Linked DNA regions of Homo sapiens: regions 2 and 3 are each linked to region 1. The links are contacts of gene promoters, found by promoter capture Hi-C in human tissues and cell types (Jung and others, 2019). All regions are on one chromosome and are shown on one strand. Each heading gives the region's core, a stretch centred on a gene start or on the middle of the fragment in contact. The rest is flanking DNA. Distances are from core to core; before and after follow the strand shown.

Evidence for each region. The method cuts DNA at HindIII sites, captures the fragments that hold promoters and counts their contacts. A contact is called where the count stands out against the background at its distance.
Region 2: a contact is called between a fragment that was not itself captured here and the fragment with the promoter of CSMD3 in region 1, in 1 of the 25 tissues and cell types used here (dorsolateral prefrontal cortex).
Region 3: a contact is called between a fragment that was not itself captured here and the fragment with the promoter of CSMD3 in region 1, in 1 of the 25 tissues and cell types used here (dorsolateral prefrontal cortex).

Annotation. Positions count from the first base shown.
Region 1 is chr8:113,435,651-113,438,246 of GRCh38, forward strand. It overlaps CSMD3 (CUB and Sushi multiple domains 3), which reads right to left and starts at 1,289. Exons shown (of 71, transcript NM_198123.2): 1 at 1,027-1,289. The coding sequence starts at 1,204. RefSeq lists enhancers at 1-383, 2,161-2,210, 2,223-2,596. The HindIII fragment of the contact is 9,532 bases long and covers 1-2,596 here.
Region 2 is chr8:111,450,174-111,452,769 of GRCh38, forward strand. All of the region lies in intron 2 of LINC02237 (long intergenic non-protein coding RNA 2237), which reads left to right. Among named protein-coding and RNA genes, the nearest start is that of LINC02237, 75 kb to the left of the region's middle. The HindIII fragment of the contact is 3,906 bases long and covers 1-2,596 here.
Region 3 is chr8:112,424,413-112,427,008 of GRCh38, forward strand. All of the region lies in intron 32 of CSMD3 (CUB and Sushi multiple domains 3), which reads right to left. Among named protein-coding and RNA genes, the nearest start is that of MIR2053, 220 kb to the right of the region's middle. The HindIII fragment of the contact is 4,996 bases long and covers 1-2,596 here.

The sequences.
Region 1 (2,596 bases), core at 39-2,538:
AAACTAGCTTCACTGAAAGCGGCATCCATAGCGTCTATTCGAGCTGCCATGAGTATGGAGAGGTGATTGTTCAAAAAATGATGGCATGAGTCATAAACACCTCCTGAGTATTCTTTGCAGCAATTAATGGGCAGCAGGGTGCCGGAGAAGTTGTGGAAGAGAGCTATGGATCTATTTTCTCCCTAAGGACAGCTCTTTTTCCCATGATCCTGACTGTCCCTTGCCTTCCTGCTTGGGAATACATTTTTACATCCCACCTACCCCCTCCCCTATCTGTGCATGTGACACTCACTCTACCTGTCTGAACGCTGAGACTTGCTGGGGATTTTCTTTTGGTCGTCAGCTAATGACTTTCCTCCTACCTCATTCATCCCTTAAGGTGGTTCTTTACACTTCATGGCATTTCAGACCCTTCGAAAGCCTCATTTTTTGCCAAACCTCTACCACAGGTCCTAGGGAAGCTCCCCTACATTTAACATTGCATAGAAGCCCAATTTACATACATATGCATGCAGACATTCATGTTGATGTGGCAGTGCTTGGAAGATCCCTGTGCCCTAATGCATTTAAAATCAACACATTCCTAGCACGTCGATAACTTTCTTCCCTGAAAGGGTTAAAAAGCATTTAGACCAGCGTCTTTAATATATATATTCCACCCAAAGCCTCAAGCCCTAGTGATCTGACAAGAAATCAAGGTAATCCTCACCACTAAGAAAAGTCTTGCAGAGGAATTCTGCCTGGATATCCACTAGTTAGAGGCTATACTAACCAACTCACGTATTCGTTTGAGCATACTGCAAGAATATTTATTGAGCACAAGCTCAATCACCGCATTGAACGCCAAATCTGGCAAGCAAAATGCATTTCCTATCTGAGGGGGGGAGAACGAGCTGTGAATCAACTCCTTTAGTATTATCAGATTATTTTATCGGTGCAAATTGCAAAGTAAGCTGCCAGCCTCTCTCCATCTACAAGTCAGCCCACCTCCATCCAAAGCGGAGGGGACCCCCAAAGCAGACCTACCTTTCACACAAGACACCGTCAATAAAAAGACGAGGTTCCAAAACGTAAATCCACTTTTAATCCCCATTTTCTTCATCAGGATGAAGTCTAGGCGGCCACATTTAGCGCATCTTCGCTTGCCAGGCTCCCAGGGTTTGGATTCCTTTGCTCGGCTTTCCCCTTTGCGGATCCCTTTCATATTATTCGCGAGCTCCTAATTCCTGCTCCTCAGCCCGGCGCAGTGGAGTTGTTGCTGTTGTTGGTGCGCGGTCACAGCTCGGAGTGAATGGTGTTTCTGGGATACCACAGCAACCTTGACGAGGACTCAACCATCTCTCCAACGGGGGCACAAAGTCTCCGCTACTCTGGATTCTGTCTTTTCTTGTGCGTTTTTTCCCCTCCACCAAAATCTACCCCAATTCTGGCTCGTTATAGCAACCACCAGAAACCACTAGTGAGCCTCTTAAAGCCCACCTCTGCTCTCTGATAAACTCCACACAATATTTGAAATTAAGGGGCTTGCTTTTTTTCCCCGAATAGATCAATTCTGCCTGTAAAAGCAGCCCAAGAAATAATGTTAGTGAGCTCTCCGTTGCAGGCTGCGAATACAGAAGCATGTCAAAGGAATATTTTAATCGGAGGATCTGTGTTGCTTTTGGGGAAACCGTGACGATAATGAATCGGGCTCCATCGATGCCCACGTCGTTATAATGGGACATGTGTTACTACTGTAGTTGCAGTATATTTCAGGCAGGCTTCTCCCATTTATTATCCTGTGATTTAATTGAAAAAGGAAATCACAGAGAATTTTCTCAATAAATTCTGCCTTCACACGGAAAAGAATGTATTTGAACACATGTATTTACATACTCAAATAACTACGTGTAAACCCTTCACCGGGTTTTTATGATTCGGGAAACGGATTTCATCCGTGGCCTGGGCGGGGGTGGGGTGGGGAGGGAAGTCAATGTCGTTTCCTCAAATAGTTCTCCCTTTCATCCTCCCAACCCCCTTTTCAGTTTGTGTGTGCCGCAGTTAAACTACTTTATCTGTGGTAGTTATCTAGAACAAACCCATTTGTCTTAATTCTGAATCGGTACCAAATATGTAAATAGGAGGTTTCTTTCAAAACGAAAAATGTATGTATCTATACATCTGGATCTGCTTCCCCCATGCACCACGCAAGGGTTAAGATTGCACAAGGGAAGAGTTCTTGCGCCATCTACTGGCCGTCTCCGAGCCGCCCGTTCTTCCTTCGCATGTATAAGGGACCCTGTTTTTGCCATCCCTTGGTGTCAGGGGAGCTGTGTCCCCGGGACCAGTATGTCGTGCTCCTTGATTTTTTTCGACCACGGTCCTGGCCCAAATCTTTCAATGAACAAGTTCCTTAGATTAGGCAACTGATTGGTGATCTGACCTTTTCGGGAATCTGGTCCCCTCTCAGCAGTGGGGAGTGCCACAGCGCTAGTTCTGAAACAGGATATTGCTGTTGCGTGTGGCTCCATTTAACTGCCTCAGGCTATCATGGGCGTGAGCGTCTATCAACAAGGCTTAGTCTAGAGGACTGCCCAACTTGAGTTTGCAGCTCCCT
Region 2 (2,596 bases), core at 51-2,550, 2.0 Mb before region 1:
TCTAGGGTCTCATCATAAACACCTAATTAGCATAATGAGGACTCCATCATCAAAAAAAAAGACACTGTTATTACTTAGGAAATTCTAAAAATGTATATACATCTGAAGTGTATCTACATATACATCAATCTATCTCTCAAAATCAATCAATGTCTCTGTCTCACATACATACACACACAAGAGAAAGAGAGAGAGAGAGAGAGAGAGAGAAAGAGATTGATTTTAAGAAGTTGGCTTATGTGATTGTGGATGCTTGGCAAGTCCAAAATCTGTAGAGTAGGCTAGTAGGATGGAGACCCAGAAAAGACATGCATTTCAAAGGCAATCAGCTGGCAGAAACCCCTTTTCTTTCAGGGAGGTCCATTTTTTTCTAGGCTGTCAACTGATCAGATGAGACTGCTTATGAAAGGTAAACTATTTTATTCGAAGTCTACCCATCCCCATTTCATAAAACATGAAATTATCTAAAATAATGTTTGACCAAATATCTGGAAACTCTGACCCAGTCAAGTTGACAAATAAAATTAACCATAATGAGAGGCAAACTCTCAAGAACCAGAAATGGATGCTTTATTATACACTTCCTAATTTGATTGATATAAATGACATAGTGCGCAATTTTTTTCTCCTGAAATTATGCTTTTTTTCCCTAATTTATTCCCCTCGTGGGGTTCAACACATATCCAAGAAAATAAAGCAGAACAACACCTATTAATGGAATTCAATTCAGAAACACAGGAACAGAGAAACATTTGGCAGCGGCTTTGAGGGCTCCAACAAATAGCTGCTCTTTCTCATCTTAAATTCCTGACCTACAGCTTCAAAGATTGTAATATGTTGGAACAGAATGATTGACAACTTCATGTATAGGCTGAGGAGAAACAGCAGGACCCTGGCGTAGTTATAGAAAAGAGATGGCTTTAGAGGAGAAAACTGAAAAACAGAATTCAGTGTTAGAGTTTCTTTTCTCAAAAAGTAATGGGCTCTAAGAGACGGTACCAGAGTCTATATGAAAGTATCCGTGGCTTCTGACAAGCTATGGAAATGCTGAACATCTAGAGGGATCAGTTCTCTGCAGACTCTGAATGTAATCTACATATTGTTGTTTTGTAATAGATCATGTATCTTTTCTCTTTAATGAAGAATAGCTTAATACTGCATTTGCATTTATTTATGTACTTTGTTATTTAAATTTAGTAAAGACTGGCCTTAGAGTGAATCAAAATTAACCACTAAGTCAAAGTGCTAAATTGTCTGGTCTATGGCCAGATGTTCTTTGTATGTGCAGAGCAAGACATAGATATGTTTCTAAATTTTGTTATCTTTCTATTTTAATGGATTGTCTGTGATGAGAAGTCATTCGAAGAAAAATTAGATTCATGGCATTATCAAAATAGTTGCTATCCTTTGCTTGTCTATTTAAATAATAGGCATTTTCTCACATGCTTTTATACTTGGAAGATATTTATACATTAAACAAGGTAGAAGACTGTTTACTTAAGTCATGTTATTAAGTCAGTAAGTTTGTCAAATACTGTATTTCAGGGGTCCCTAACCCCCGGCCACAGACAAGTACTGGTCCATAGCCTGTTGGGAAACGGGCCTCACAGTAGAAGGCAAGTAGCCAGCATGCGAACAAAGCTTCATCTGTATTTAAAACCACTCCCCATCACAACCATTACCACCTGAGTTCGGCCTCCTATCAGATCAGCTGTGTCATTAGATTCTCATAGGCCTGCAAATCCTATTGTGGACTGCACATGTGAGGGATCTGGGTTGCATGCTCTTTATGAGAATCTAATGCCTGATGATGTGAAGTGGAGCTGAGGACGTAATGCTAGCACTGGGGAGAGACTACAAATACAGATTAACATTAGCAGAGATGTTTGACTGCACAGAGAACATACAAATCAAATGCTTGCAGATTCATATCAAAACCCTATCAGTGAATGGCAAATGACAATTAAGCTGCATCTGGTGGCTGGCTTTATAGTGGCACTTGAGTTGATGTACTTCAATTGTACAGCTGCATCTGGTGGCAGGCTTTAAGTCAGAATCTGACACTTATTCTAGTCCATGCATGGGTTGCCCATTATTTTATTTACCACTTCTGTTCATGCCTCTTTCCTTTACTGTGCACTTGTCTCAGCCACAGTTTGGGTAAGCCCACAAGCTAACCCTAGCCAAAATGAGTAAAAGCAAATGTCACTGGAGAGTTTCTTTGAAAAGAGGAAAAGACACAATGATGAGACAGCAGAAAACTCTACGGCTGACAACAAAAATACAGCTGAATTTAAAAGAAAATACCAAGTGTCCTACTTAAATTGTGGATTCATTGAAAAAGGTGATTCATATTCTGTAAACCTGCTTTGTATAATATGTGATGAGCAGTTATTTAATGAAGCCATTAAACTCTCAAAACTTCTTCACCACATGGAAACCAAGCACCCTCTATTAAAAGACAAGACTTAGGAGTTTTTCAAAAGAAAAAAAAAGTTGTGAACATGAAGAACAGAAGCAATGAAGGCCACCACTTCATCAAATGTGTCTGTACTGAGAGCATCATTCTTAGGGGCTAACTGCATTGCTAAAGCTA
Region 3 (2,596 bases), core at 28-2,527, 1.0 Mb before region 1:
GCACATGTGACTTACTTTGTATTATGTTTTGGTCTTCAATGGTTTACAAAGCCATGGTAACTCACTTCAAAACACAAATGGATCTTTTTAAAACAATGAATTAAACCTTATTCTCAAGGTTTGTTAAGACTCTCACTAGAGACCAAGAATAAGATAGGTAATTCCCTAAAATTATTCAGTTTCCCTAACTATGTCATAGCTTGATCCAAATTAGGATCAGAACATTTTTTCTTCTTTTCATGTTCCCATTCTTCTATTTTATTTTATTTTACTTACTTATTTATTTATTTATTTATTTGAGGCGGAGTCTCACTCTGTCACTAGGCTGGAGTACAGTGGCGTGATCTCGGCTCACTGCAACCTCCACCTACCAGGTTCAAGCAGTTCTCCTGCCTCAACCTCCCGAGTAGCTGGGACCACAGGCATGTGCCACAATGCCCAGCTAATTTTTGTATTTTCAGTAGAGACGGGGTTTCACCATGTTGGCCAGGAGGGTCTCTATCTCTCGACCTTGCGGTCTGCCCACCTCAGCCTCTCAAAGTGCTGGGATTACAGGCATGAGCCACCGCGCTTGACCTATTTTTTATTTAGTAAGAATGTTGTTTAAATGTTTCTTAAATATCAGTTATTCTGAATAAGTAACTACATTTTACTTCTCAGTTGTTAGTTGTTAAAAATTCTTTACAGTTAAATGATGCTGGAACCCAACTAGTAATAACCATTAATCAAAAAGCCTCATGTAAATAGGATCATTATCATTTATTTTACATACTATGATATTCCAAAATAGATAAGACATCCTGAAAAGCTTTGTGAAAGAGTCATGTGGCTAACTAATGTTTTGAAAGATATCTAGAAGGTTATATTCTAATTTTAAATGGTAAATATTCTGACTTCAAATTGTGAACCCCAATTTTTTTCATGTTAATTTGGACTTAATTTATAGATTCAGCAACTCAAAGTCAGTGGAGGGTGAGAAGGAGTCTTAAGAACAAATCTAAAGGAAGCCTATTGTCTTTCTTGCATGGCTATATTTGCTGTACTCACTTATCTGTGAGGAGTTTAATCTGTATTGTCTCAGATTTTACTTGTAATAACTTGAGTAGTAGGTATTCTTATGCATATTTTGAGGATGAGGAAACAGGCCCCCAGCTACCCCAAGGGAGACTTATGCTGCTAACATTCATATCCAGTGCCTCTTGAATTAATAGCTACTCACTTTCAAGCACTGTTATAAACAATTCCATACCAAGCATATTGACAGTCAGATTAGATAATTTTTTAACATTCCCCACTGTGGTAAAACTATTTTCATGAATAATCACAAATGAATTAATAATACTGGCCAGAAAATAAATATAGACTGTGAAAATTTTCTATTATTAAACTCTGTGTGTGTGTTAAAATAGTAGTAAAAAAATCTCAAAATAAGAAAACAAATATTAAAGTACCAAAAAAAAGATGAAGTCATACATTCGTTACATAAGTGTATTTTTTTAATGGGAAGAAACACACACTGAAGTTTGGACTCTATTTTAGTCTTCTAAATTTTAAGCAGAAACAAAAAATACAAGTGGTTACATAGAATTCCATCACTGAAATAAGTCAAGTTCTATTTCTTTGTCTTACAATTACTGTTCCATCATATACTGTCTGAATGCACAAATACATAGTAAAATGGAGCTGGAGACATAAAAAAAGTGAGCTGCAATAGTTTCAAATCATTAAAACTTTACTCTGAAAATGATTGTTTAGCTTAATTCTAGTGTGTCAAGGACAACAAATAAAATAAGATAAAATTCCATTGGTGAATTTGAGTGTGTGTGCAGGGGGTGGGGAGTGAGGGTGAAAACTTTTTTTTAAGCACATTTTAATAGGTAGTTGGTATTGATTGTGAACCTTCTATATTTTTTGGAAACAATTCATTTCATCAAAGCAACTAAATATAAACATAGTCATGTTTAATTATTTTACTGTTAAGTAAGAAAAGCTGAAACAACTGAATTATTCCATTTGGTAAGGAATGCCTGGCCACTCTGTGACTCTTCTTCCTGAAACCCATGAAGCCAGACTTCACAGATTGATACCCCCAAGAGCATCTCCTAATTGTGATTTTTCTCCCACTTCTCTGACTTTGCTTATGCTAGACTATCTGATCTTCTTAGCTAATGTCTATTCATCTTTGAAGACTCAGCTCTGGTGAGCTATCACCAGATACTATCATTACCTCAGAATTTATCTGATTAAGGTTTGCTCAAATACTTTTCCATTGTATGCACTGCTTATTCTGGTCATATAAATTATTGCACTATTTTGAAATTCTGACTTACATATATTTTTCCTTCACTACTTTAGATTATTCGTGTATTCCAGTAACTACTTCCCTGGCACTAACAACACCTTTGTGCAATGAATGTGGAAACTCCAATTATGTACAAAAAATAAAATCAGAAATGCTAAGACAATGTTTTCACTCTTTTCAGGTAATCGTGATACCTTGCAATCATTTCAAATACCAGGTGTTCAAAAGTATTGTGTCAGCATGGCTCTCCTTTTTCATTTTATTTGTTTTTACCCACAAGTAGTCAATATTATT